3 separate regions of the Homo sapiens genome follow, and all the other regions are linked to region 1. The links are contacts of gene promoters, found by promoter capture Hi-C in human tissues and cell types (Jung and others, 2019). All regions are on one chromosome and are shown on one strand. The core of a region is centred on a gene start or on the middle of the fragment in contact, and the rest is flanking DNA. Distances in the headings are between cores, read along the strand shown.

What was found. The method cuts DNA at HindIII sites, captures the fragments that hold promoters and counts their contacts. A contact is called where the count stands out against the background at its distance.
Region 2: a contact is called between a fragment that was not itself captured here and the fragment with the promoter of EN2 in region 1, in 2 of the 25 tissues and cell types used here (H1 embryonic stem cells and spleen).
Region 3: a contact is called between a fragment that was not itself captured here and the fragment with the promoter of EN2 in region 1, in 8 of the 25 tissues and cell types used here (H1 embryonic stem cells, heart left ventricle, liver and 5 more).

What each region holds. Positions count from the first base shown.
Region 1 is chr7:155,456,211-155,460,435 of GRCh38, forward strand. EN2 (engrailed homeobox 2) reads left to right here and starts at 1,919. Exons shown (of 2, transcript NM_001427.4): 1 at 1,919-2,852. The coding sequence starts at 2,168. EN2-DT (EN2 divergent transcript) reads right to left here and starts at 908. Exons shown (of 3, transcript NR_186580.1): 1 at 780-908. RefSeq lists an enhancer at 581-1,572. The HindIII fragment of the contact is 19,554 bases long and covers 1-4,225 here.
Region 2 is chr7:155,582,161-155,586,385 of GRCh38, forward strand. No RefSeq gene overlaps it. Among named protein-coding and RNA genes, the nearest start is that of CNPY1, 38 kb to the left of the region's middle. The HindIII fragment of the contact is 4,336 bases long and covers 1-3,993 here.
Region 3 is chr7:155,537,616-155,541,840 of GRCh38, forward strand. All of the region lies in intron 2 of CNPY1 (canopy FGF signaling regulator 1), which reads right to left. Among named protein-coding and RNA genes, the nearest start is that of CNPY1, 6.8 kb to the right of the region's middle. The HindIII fragment of the contact is 3,908 bases long and covers 1-3,872 here.

The DNA of each region.
Region 1 (4,225 bases), core at 669-3,168:
CAGCAACCTGCTGGCTGCCTCTGCGGGGGTCTGGGTTGCTGAGCACGGTGCAGCTGCCCAGGGCCAATCAGCCCTAGGGTGTCCGTGCCAGGCTGCGGCCTCCCCGCCTCCCCCGCACTGAGGGTACTCATGGCGTGCAAATGCTCCCGCACCCCCAGAGCTGCCCTATCGGATGTTTCCAGGAATTCACACATTTCCATAAAAATGCATTTTAAATGATGGACAGGCGAGCCTGGGGTAACAACGGGTGTTTGGTGGGTAGACAAGAGCAAATGGGAAGGAGCCCGAGGGAGGAGGGGGAAGAGAAGAGGAAACAGAACTTCCAGTTGGACATTCTGACAACAGCTGGAAGGAAAGTCTAGAAAAGATGAAGAGAGAGGAGGGGAGAAACCAACTGGGGCTCCCACCCTTGCCGTTGGATTCCTAATTCTCGTTTCAAATGGGCCCTGCTCTCCGGCAAAATTAGTTTAAAGGATTTTAAAACAAAGAAAACGAGATGACCGGTCTGGGAGCTCCTCAATCAGAGTAGAGAAGTTAGAGGGGGGCGGGCGACTTGGTTTTGAAGTCTTAGCTGAACAGTCACCCCTCCTCTCCTTGGCAAAAAGGATTCCTTTAGAACCTCCGAGGCTCCTGGATTTCTCCCTTCGCAAATGGAGCCGCATACTGCATTCCCCCGCTCTTTCGGATCGCTAAGCATGTTTCATGAGGGTCGCTGTCCCCGGGTGGAATGCGGCCGTATGCACGCGCCTCCCTGCACACGCACACACACGCACACTTACAATAAGTGTCTGCAGGAGGAGTGTCCTGCGCGCCAGCTCTGCGTTTAAGACAGGAAGCTGCCGGGTTACCGAGTCAAATGGGAGTGACACTATTCCTCTCCATCAGCAAGGAAAGCGGACCACAAAAGTCCCTTTGTATCTCGGCAGCTCATTTAATATTATTTATGCATTTTGTGCAAGGAATTGTGGGATTTCGCCCCACGGTAAACAATATGGAAATCTTAAAAATAGCGATCTTCCTGTGCGTGTCCACCTACGCGCCCCGGGGTGACCTGGCGGGGCTGTCGCCGGGTGACTCACACCCCTGAACCGCGAAGCGACAGGGAAAGCGCGGGCGAGCGCAGGAGACGCGGTCGGGGGTCTCTCCGGGTTCCTGGGCTCCCGCACCCGGAGCGGGGGACGCGGCCGCTTTAAGGGGAGGAGGGGCGGCGGGCTGCTCCTGTCACCCAGCGGCGGCCGGAGCGTCACGTGGGCGCGCGGCGCCGCGGCCATTGGCCCGAGGCACGTGTCCAGGAGACCGGCCTGCGACGTCACTCGAGGGGGCTCTGTTAAAAATAAGAACAAAAATCCAGAGTGAAAGTGTCTCAGGTTGCGCCGAGTGGCCTGGAAATTTCCGAGCCCGCGCGGAGGCCGAGGCGGCGAGGGCGGCGGACGGCCGGGGAGCGCGGGCGGCCCAGCCCGGCCCGGCCGGGCCCTGGCCTCGCGTCTCTCACCCATGCGACTCGGGCCGCGGAGCTCTGCGGGGCTCGGCGGGGGCGCGGCCGCACGCCGGTGGGGCGCCCCGGCCCGCAGCGGGGCGGCGGCCGCGAGGAGGGGGCCTCCATGTGCGTGCGGGCGGTGGCGGGCGCGCTGACCGCGGGCGCCCGGCACCCTCGAGGGCCGGCTAGGGCGTGCGGGCGGGGACGGCCGGGCGGCGGCGGCGGCCGGAGCCGGCCCGGGCGGGCGTGAGCGCCGGGGAACGCGCTGCCTGCATGCGCGCAGCTCTCGCCCCGGGCGGCCCAGGCGGCGGCGCCGGAGCCCGAGGCGGCCGGACGCGGAGAGGAGCGGGGAGCCCGGGAGGCGGCCCGCGTCCCCGCCGGACCACTGCGACTGTCTAGACCCCGGCTGCGCGGCGAAGTCGAGGACTTGGCTCTGTTGAATCTCTCATCGTCTGGGCGAGCGGGGCGGCTCGTGGTGTTTCTAACCCAGTTCGTGGATTCAAAGGTGGCTCCGCGCCGAGCGCGGCCGGCGACTTGTAGGACCTCAGCCCTGGCCGCGGCCGCCGCGCACGCCCTCGGAAGACTCGGCGGGGTGGGGGCGCGGGGGTCTCCGTGTGCGCCGCGGGAGGGCCGAAGGCTGATTTGGAAGGGCGTCCCCGGAGAACCAGTGTGGGATTTACTGTGAACAGCATGGAGGAGAATGACCCCAAGCCTGGCGAAGCAGCGGCGGCGGTGGAGGGACAGCGGCAGCCGGAATCCAGCCCCGGCGGCGGCTCGGGCGGCGGCGGCGGTAGCAGCCCGGGCGAAGCGGACACCGGGCGCCGGCGGGCTCTGATGCTGCCCGCGGTCCTGCAGGCGCCCGGCAACCACCAGCACCCGCACCGCATCACCAACTTCTTCATCGACAACATCCTGCGGCCCGAGTTCGGCCGGCGAAAGGACGCGGGGACCTGCTGTGCGGGCGCGGGAGGAGGAAGGGGCGGCGGAGCCGGCGGCGAAGGCGGCGCGAGCGGTGCGGAGGGAGGCGGCGGCGCGGGCGGCTCGGAGCAGCTCTTGGGCTCGGGCTCCCGAGAGCCCCGGCAGAACCCGCCATGTGCGCCCGGCGCGGGCGGGCCGCTCCCAGCCGCCGGCAGCGACTCTCCGGGTGACGGGGAAGGCGGCTCCAAGACGCTCTCGCTGCACGGTGGCGCCAAGAAAGGCGGCGACCCCGGCGGCCCCCTGGACGGGTCGCTCAAGGCCCGCGGCTTGGGCGGCGGCGACCTGTCGGTGAGCTCGGACTCGGACAGCTCGCAAGCCGGCGCCAACCTGGGCGCGCAGCCCATGCTCTGGCCGGCGTGGGTCTACTGTACGCGCTACTCGGACCGGCCTTCTTCAGGTGAGCCCGCGGGGACCACGCGTCCCGGCTCGCCGCGGGGAGGCCCGCGGAGCTGGGGGGCGGTGCTGGCGCGGGAACTTACCGGGAGGAAAACATCTCGAACCTCCCCCGCGCACACGCACAAAGACTCACGCGACATTGTGTGAAGCTGACGCCGGCCCGGGCAGCGGCCAGGAGTCCAGCGGCAGGACTGATTCGCTAGGGGGTACAGACTTCTTAGGACCGCAGAAGGGACCTTCTTTCTTTCTCTGTCTCTCTCTCTCCTTCCTCTCTCCCTGTCTCCCCTCTCTGTCTTCCACCCCGCCTTGGCGCATCTCTTCCCAGCCCCTAGCCCATGTCTCCCCCACTGTAGTTTTTTTTGGTGGGAACGTGGTGGCTGGAAGATGGGCCCGGAAGTGCACACTCTCATCCCCTTCCCTACGATCTTCCAACTCAGGCCAGGCCGGGGACGCATGCCCCAGCCCACCCCAGACTTGTCCTACCATCCGGTTATCCCGGCTGTGCTCGGGGAAGAAAAGGCGAGGCCCTTTGCCGCTCTGCCTTCTGCCCCTCGGGCCTGCGCTGACCGGTGGGACTCAGGAGGATGCACACAGGGAAGGAGGAAAATAAAGGCGCCCTTTCCCCTTGGCTCCACTTTGTTTGCCAGCGCCAGCCCGCAGTGGTGGGGCTCAGCCCCCTTCCTGCACACAGCGAGGACAAGGGAGGCAGCCGTCCCTCCCGGCACCTGCCATCCCCAAATAGAAAGGACCTTCTCTCAGGGTTTCCTGGGGGCTGCTGATGGGAAAGAGGCAGCATTCGCAGGGGCCCTGCAGAGATGCTGGATATATTTTTTCATAGATCTGCGATTTTAAAAAACTAAGTCCATGTCCTTGTAGAAATCATCAACTGCATTCCATGCGGGTCTGCGGCTGGGAACCGCCATTAGAAGTGGACTGTTTGACCCCGAGCTGGCAGCGGATCCCCGCTGCCCCCAAACCCTCAACTATTTTGCGGGGGTCATTTGCCCAGATCACAGCAGGAGTGAGCCAACCCTTGGGCCGCCATCCCGCAGAACTATGCGTGCATATTTCTGATGAAATTCAGATTTCTCAGCTAGATCTGAAATTTGCTCCATTGTTCTCGTCTTCCTCCTTTGTTAATATTTAATTAACATACAGGCTCACAATGCCGGGCGAGGAGACTCGGCCGGGCTTTGTGCGGCGCGGGAGTTCGCTGAGCCAGCCCCCAACGGCCCGGGAGCTGGGCAGCACCGCCCGGCCCGGCCTGGCCCGGCCCAGCTCAGCCCAGCCCAAGTCGCCTATCTTCATGGGCTTTAAAATATCCCTGCAAGATAATGTTTCTGTTCTTTGGTTTCTCCGAAAGAAAGGGGAGAG
Region 2 (4,225 bases), core at 576-3,075, 130 kb after region 1:
AGTGAGCCCCTTTTCCTGAGGGGGTCCTTGGGTGCCAGGGCCGGCCAAGAAGAGTGTGGGGAGGTCTCACCACCCCCTATTTGCACAGGTGACTGCCAGGCTTGGAGGGAGCCCATGGAATAGCAAAGCCCTGGAGAATGAATTCAACTGAGAAGGTGAAGGAGTGATCTTCCCCTTTTGGCATAAGGAGGGACAGGGCAGGAAAGGGGCACCTGCAGAGGACAGGTGTAGAAAAGGCTACACTACAGGGAAGGTTTCTATGAGGGTCTGAATGTCTGTATCCCCCCAAAATCCACATGGTGAAACTTAAGCCCAAATGTTATGGTATTACGAAGTAGGGCCTTTGGGAGGTGATTACTCATGAGGTCAAAGCACTAATGGAATCAGTGCCCTTTATAAGGAGGCACTTTATAAGGAGTGCCTCTTTTATAAAGAGGCCCAAGAGAACATATTCACCCCTTCCACCATGTGAGAGCACATCGAAGGTGCTCTTTATGAGAAACAGACCCTCACCAGATGCTGAAGCTTTGTGGCTCTTGATCTTGGACTTCCCAGTCTCTAGAATGGTTAGCATTACATATCTATTTTTTTTAAGTTACCCAATCTAAGGTATGTTGTTATAGCAGCCTGAAGAGACTAAGAAAGAAATTGGTACCAGTAGTGGGGATGTTGCTATAACAAATACCTAAAAATGTGAAAGCTTCTTTGGAGCTAGGTAATGGGTAGAGGCTGGAAGAGTTTGGAGGTGCATGCTAGAAAAAGCCTACATTGCTGTGAACAGAACAGCAAGGATGATTCAGGTATAGGCACAGAAGAAGAAGAGAGCCTCTGAGAAAACCTCAATCTTCCTCAAGATTGATAAGAGGTCAGAATGAGAATGTTGGTAGAAATATGGGCAGTAAAGGCCATTTTGATGCAGTTTCAGAAGGAGGAGAGGAACATGTTATTGGAAACTGGAGGAAAGGCCATCTTTGCTATGAAGTGGCAAAGAACTTGGCTGAATTGTGTTCATTCCTAGTGCTTTGTGGAAGGATGAATTTGTGAACAATGAAATAAGGTATTCAGCAGAAGAAATAACTAAGCAAAGTGTTGAGGGTGCAGCCTGGCTTCTCTTGACTGCTTATAGTAAAATGAAAGAAGAGAGAAATGAATTAAAGATGAAATTTATAATCAAAAGGGAAGAGAACCTAAAGATTTGGAAAATTTTCAGCCTGGCCACATACAGAGCAAAAAAGCATGTTTAGGAGAAAAATCAAGGGTGTAGCCAAGCGACCGCTGATAAGGAGATTGGTATGGAGAAAAGGAAGCTGGATGCTGCTCATCAAGACAGTGGAAGAGTGACCCCAGGAACTTCTGAGCTTCTCAGGGCTGCTCTGCCTGTCACAGGTCCAGAGCGCTAGGGCCTTGGGGATAGAATGATTTCAAGGCTCTGCTGCCCATGTTCCAATGCAGTGCTCCTTGGCCACCCCACCTGGGCTCAAGCCCACCTAGGCTCAAGCAGGCCCAGGTGCAGCTCAGCCCACCCCTCTGGAACTCACAAGCAGTAAACTCTGACAGTATCTATGCAGTGCCCTCTCTATAGGAGCTGTGGTGACATGGTTCCCTCCATCCAGATTTCACAGGATGGCCTGGAGAGCCCCAGCTCCCACGGAGAGAACTGACACAGAGGTGGGGCCACCTCAGAGAGTTCCCACTAGGGCAATGTCCAGTGGAGTTCTGAGGGCAGGAGTGCCCACAAGACTCCGGTACTGTAGATCCAGCAGCAGTGTGCAGCCCCAGCCTGGGAGGGCATGGACCTCCAACCAGGGAGAGCTTCAGGAGTTACCATAGACCACCACCCTCCCCGACCCCTCCATTCAACCACTGAATCTCTCAATAGCTTCCAACTCACCTCCTCTTCACCCCCATCCTCCTCCCTCTTCTGGATGACTGCAGGCCTCTTTTCCAGGCTTCTCTCCCCACTCCAGGCTCTCCACAACATTCTCCACAGTCATGCTGCTGAAAACCAACCCAACTGTGACCCAAAGACCCGAATGCCCAAGTTCTACCAAGTTCCACCAAGGGTTCCCACATTACCTTAAGGATAAGGGAGATTCGTATGGAGAGAAGGAAGCCGGATGCTACCCATGAGGACAGTGGAAGAGTGACCCCAAGGGTTATCCTCTGCATTGGCATAAAAGCCCTGCACGAGGGGCCCCTGGCTGCGACACGGCAGCACCATCCTCTGGGCACCTTGCTGAGAGCTCTGTACATGCACTGCACCTCTGCGCACAGGCTGCCCCTCGGTCTGAAAGGCTGAGCCACCCTTCCCAGTGGTTCCTAGTCCTTCAAGACTTAGTCAAGATCAGCTCCTCCAGGAAGACTTCCCAGAGCACCATCCTGCCCCTCCTTGTGAGTCTGAGCCTGGTTCCAGCACCTCCAGCCTCCATCGGAACCCCCAACCCACCAATCCTCCAGAGAGGGGCTCCCTGGGCTGGGCTGGGCACCACTCTCCCTGGACCTTGGCACTGGACATAACTTCCAGTCTGGGACACAATGGACACCCAGTAGAAAGTGTTTCTGAAACATCAATAATGGACTGACGTGGAGCAAGTCACAACGACCCCAGGACTCCACGTTTCCACCAAGTGAGGGGATATTACTCAGTGAGCTACAAGACCACTTCCAGCCCTGCTATTGCACCAACTGTCCTTGAACTAAAGCCACTGAAAACAAAGCTTGGCATAAGACGGTCTTTCTCAGATGGAACATAGCTGCTCTCATGATCTGTCATGCCACGTGACACGCCATATTCTGCAGGCTGCAATGCTGCAGCATTCGTGACCTTGGGAACCACAATTCTGACAAAACAAATTAGACACTAAGCATCTCTAGCTATCATTAAACTTCCCCAGCAGCAGGGCGATGATCGGATCAGACCTCAATTCTGCTCTCAGTTGTAATAGGAGTTTACAGCCATATGTGCCTCGTTGCCTGAGGCACAGTAAGGCTGTGTTTAACAGGGCTCACGCTAGGGAAATAATGTTCCAACGGATCATAAATAATATTGCATTTGCATCGTGCATGTTTTTCCCTGTTTCCTCTCATCATAAGAAAAGCTGTATGCATTTGGTTCATCCTTCCCCAGAACACATCCAGCCTGTGTTATCAGAAGCACACAGGGAGGAAAATCTACTTCCATCTGATGGACGCTGTTAATCTGAGCACAGCTGAGCTGTACCTGGGGCTCCAGCCAAAAGCACATGCCTCAGAAATGACGGCAAGCACACCCAGACCAGGGCGGGAATGAGGAACTTCAGATCAGCCAGGCTCCTCCTGCAACATGGCCCGTCAATTCTCCACTCTAGGGGGCTCACCTTTTCTCTCGGCCGATTCTTTGACGTTTCAGGCTACACACAGGGGAGACAGAGTGTGTGTGTGTTCATGTGTATATGTATGTGTTTATGTGTGTATACGTATGTGTTTATGTGTATATGTGTGTTTGTGTGTTTATGTGTTTGTATGGGTGTATGTGTGTATGTGTGTTTATGTGCTTATGTGTGTATGTGTTTATGCGTATGTTTATGGGTTTGTGTGTGTGCGTGTGTTTACGTATGTGTGTTTACGTGTATTTATGTGTGTGTTTATGCATGTATGTTTATGCGTGTGTTTATGTGTGTGTTTGTGTGTGTGTGTTCATACTGCGGTGCTTTTTGGGGGATATCAGTTATCCTTTTAATGTTTCTCAAAGCAGCACATGTAAAACCTGGCCCCCACTGCACCTGCAGTGCTCACTCCCCAGAAGCAACACTTCCAGCTTTGCAGATTGTTTCCTACTGAGCTCCACATTTCTAAATAAACAGCCATGTACTGCCATCTCTTAGCATTTCAATGTTGCACTCACTGAACTTCCTATCTAGGATGAGGAATTACCTCAGTAACCGCCCCCGACACACACACAGAGCTGCACGCACACATACACACACACAGCTGCACACACACACACACAGTTGCACACACACACAGAGCTGCACACACACGAAGCTGCACACACATGCGCTGTGGCAGACACATATTCACATGCCCCCCTGTTCGTTCCCCCAGCCTGGGCATGTGCTTGTTTTTGTTAAATCCATGCCCAGCATTGACATTATGATTGTGGAGCTACCTCTTACCACTGAGTCCCTGCACTTGATTACATTTCCTTTCTTGTACAAATTTTGTATATCCTGGAGTTAACTGACTT
Region 3 (4,225 bases), core at 669-3,168, 81 kb after region 1:
GGTTTCACCGTGTTGCCCAGGCTGGTCTCAAACTCCTGACCTCAGGTGATCCACCCGTCTTGGCCTCCCAAAGTGCCGGGATTACAAGCATGAGTCACTGCGTCCAGCCTCTGTTGAATATTTTATACGAAACAAAATCACGTGTCTGTGTATAGTGTTCCATCTTCTTAAGAACAATGCTACTTTTTAGAATAGGAATTTCTACATTATCATGGAATTCTTTTGATTTCTAAAAAAAAACCTTCAAAACTTTATGTTTTAAATTTAACAAGTAATATGTTTATTATAGAAAAAATTTTAACAGATAAACAAAAAAAGAAAGAAAGGAGCTCAGCAGTAATACGCAGATACAAGAACTGTGACTATTGTCTCAGTGTATTTCCTGAGGCTCCCTCCTGCAGTGAACAGACACAGACACGTAAGAGGGCATCTGTATGTGCGGGTTAATAACCTCTTTTTTGCACTTAATAATAGGAAAATACCCTTCGGATTTTTTCACATGGCAATTTACAGGTTCCTGTGAACATCATTTTCTTGCACCATCATCTTTCTCAATTGTTGCTGAAGTAATTTTCTTATTAAGGTGGCATCCATGGGCCAACAGCCCTTGCAAAACAATTTAGGGGTGATCCCTGAAACTCCTGGTTGCTAAGTGTGGCCTCCAGCCCTGCAGTCCATCTGCACACCATCCCTTCCTCTTGTGCTTGCAAGAAAATGCAAGTAAGTACTAGGGACTGTTGCCACCAACCTCATTTTCAGACACTGGGGACCCTGCAGGCTGGTCTCACTGTCTCCTGGGCTCTCCGCCTTCACCCGCGTGTGACCCTGAACTGTGGCAGATCTGGGGACCATCCACCAAAGAGCCCTCCCACCCCCCTCCTGCTAACCCCAGACTCTGCCCCTCCTCACGTGCCCAGGACAGGCCACGCCCCCACAAGGCCCTGAGCTTGGGTCTGGATTGATCTGAGGGACGTCTGCGAATGCCCCACTTGCCCCGCAGTTGGTCTAGCCACAGGCGTTAGAGGCCCTCCTGACCCATGAGATATGAGGGGGAGTTCTGGGGGCTGGGGGTGGGAGATCCTGGACAAATGTCCTCCTTGTTAAAAAAGAGACCCCATGCAAAGCTGTTCACTTTTCTGCTCTGAGCACCGCCATGGGCTGACTCGCGCCCCCTCCTATTCACCTCCTGCCCACCCCACTCAACTCACCCTTCACTCTCTGAGACGTGGCGTTCACACTGGCGGCTGCTGAGGTCTCTGGGTCAGAGTGTGAGCTCCTATGGGGGAAGAATTCCTCCCCTAGTCCACACCACATGTAGACCCGGAATGCTGATCCAAAGGAGACCAGTGCCAGGGCACATCAGCAGGAATCTGAGCCCCAAGGCTGCTGCCACCAGGGGCCAGGAGCCAGCTTCGGGCCCCTTTCTTTGTCGCTCCCCACCCCACCCTGCCCAGCTGCGGTCCCTTGGTCCATAGAAAGCGTAGGCCGCTAAGCCAAAGCTGTCACTGCTGTAATATGAGGATTCAGAGGAGATGTTCTGATTTTCTTTCTGCAGAAGGAGTCAGGAATTGTTGTGGCATTGTTTGGGTATTAATAATCTTCCTAAATCAAATATCTTTAGGCTACCGTATCATGCTGAGGACAGCCATCTGCTATAGTGGCTTCCAATTTTTTGGACATGACCCACTTCTTACACCAAAACCCATTATATAAAGTGTCACAAAACATACTTTCCTTTTCTATAAGATGTACTCTGATATTTAATATATATTTCTACATTCTTGTATGCCACTACACGGATTTCATGGCCCTCTAGCGAGTAGGAAAATTGCTGATGGACTGAATCCCCCTGCACCTCCTGGCTGGCCTGATAGAATAGCCAGCCCTCTCATTTTGTCCATGTACAGTTGTGCAGGTTGCACACTGCACAGCTCCAGGATGTTATAGTGCCCTGTTGTTTCATAGTACATAATGGGATGGGGTAGCTCTGTCAATAGTGTGGGAGCAGAGGGAAAGCTTCCCTTCTGCTCCCTGTGAAGGCTTGCTGAAATGACTGAAAAACAGATTAACGGGGGGAAAAAAGCAGACAAACATTCATGTGTGTTAGCATGGGAGCCATATGAAATATGAGACTCCAACAAGGGCAAGATGGTTGAGACTTAAATACCCTTTTCATGGAGGAGAGGGAAGTGGGGGCCCGTGGGCCATTTTAGGGGAGAGTCAGTGATTCTTAGGAGAAAGGAATGGACGCAGGAGGCAGACATTATCTTGTCAACGATTCTCTTAGGAAACTGAATAGGACCAGCAAGTTATGGGAAGGTGAGGGGTAGAACTGCACCGTGAACACAGATTTTCTTCTTATGTGACAAAGCCTCCAGGGTCATCACTTTGAGCTGCCCTCAGAAGAACAGATGAAAAGTCTGGGGGTGGGGGTGACCTTTAGGCTTTTCTCTCCTCTGGTGGCTAAATCTTTCCTGGTTATTTGATCAGATTCCTCGGGAAGAGATCTTAAGACAATTGTATTTCTTTTGGAAAGAAGTTTCCTAAGTCGGATAAGGAAATTCCAGGGAGAGGCTCTCTGCACTTGGGGGCTGGAGGAGGAAACAAGGTTAGAAAGTCCAGAATTCTGAGACAGCTTCGAAGGACTTCCAATGTCCTTTAATTCAAGTGCTCGGCTTTGCCAAAGCACCGTGCACTGGGGTCTCGTTCTCCTCATCTTAGCGCTAGCAAATGGTATTGGAATTTTTCTAAATTAACTTATCAGCAAATTAAATTAATACTAATTTGTCAAAATTAAGTGAGTCACTAAAGCTTTCTGGGCCTCATCTGCATTTCTAAAATGAAGCTAATTACAGTGGCCCAGTTTACCTCCCAGAGTTGTGTTTTAAAGCTTAAAGAAGCATGAGGTGTTGGTGCAAACCGGATATTGGCCTCGTCCTCACTGTTGCTGTTGGTGCTTTCTGTTTGAACTTTCCAAGTTTCGCAGAGAGCGAGGCCTTGCTCTCACACTCAGCCGAGGCAGAGGACGCCCCTGAGCTCTGCTTCATCATTTACAATTCCCTCGGTGAACACACGTTTCCTGGGTCCCTGTGGGTAACACACGGCTTGCCCTGGTCATCCTGTATCCAGTGACTGGAGCTCGGAGGTTCAAAATCTAAAAGCAAATGTGAGCCCCTCGACTCCAGCTCCCTGACCCTGGGTGCCCCGCTGAGAGCAGCAGTGCATGCGTACCCTCATTCGGGAGGCCAGCCTTTCATCACTGGGAGAGGAGACAGGTAAGCAAATGTGAAGTAACTGCCTCCAAATTGTCTTGTGCTGTGTTGCCCTGTTTTAGGAAAGGTGCCATTAATCCAATTTGTTTAAAAAATAAATAAATAATAGGGAAATAACCGCAGTGCTGAGATGCTGGCTGCATTTTGCTGAACAGACGAGGCTTTGTGCCAGTGTGAGGAGCTACCGAGTGAAGACATCCCACCTACGGTGGCAGCAGGGGTGGTCTCCCACCTGTCCCCAACAGCCCCAGGCCAAGGAGGCAGCTCTCTGAACTCTGGACTTTAGTGAGTGCTCCCCCGCTGAGCCTCCCCGTTCCCGCTGTTCTGAAGACAGAGACCTCCGCGAGCGGAGCACGAGCTCCCAGCCTATCATGAACATCGAGCAAGACGTGGCACGTGAATTTCATTTCTCAAGGAGAATGGCACTAAAATCCTTGGCTAGGGAGAATGTTTCCAACAGAGCAAGGCAGTCAGTCCCCGGGAGCTGAGGTCCCTGTACATCGTGTATTACTAAACAGCTGCCCCTTCCATCCTCTCTGCTTCTACAGGCTGTCCCATAAAGTTGATAACATTGAAGACTTCTGAGCTAGCTTGAGAATGATGTTGATTACAATAATGAGCCTTATTTTCTAATCATTCCCCACACCACATGACCCACACCTTCCTCCCTTCTAGCCTGCTTGGCAGGTCAGCCTCAGATGATGAGGAGGGAGGCCAACCGGGCCTGGCTTGGAGGCTCCCCAGAGCCCCCGCAGTCTGCTGAGTGTGGGGCGACTGTCCATGGGTCTTGCTCTAACTCAAGGGAAGCTGGAGCACCCTTCCTCGAGGGTCTTGCTGCCTGGCTGGCCAGGAGGACAGTGTGGATGGAGCCACACACCCTGAGGTCCTTCCCAGGAAGGGAAGTCTTCCAGCCTCGCACCAGCCTCTATAACCATCACTCAAAGGTGGGTAAG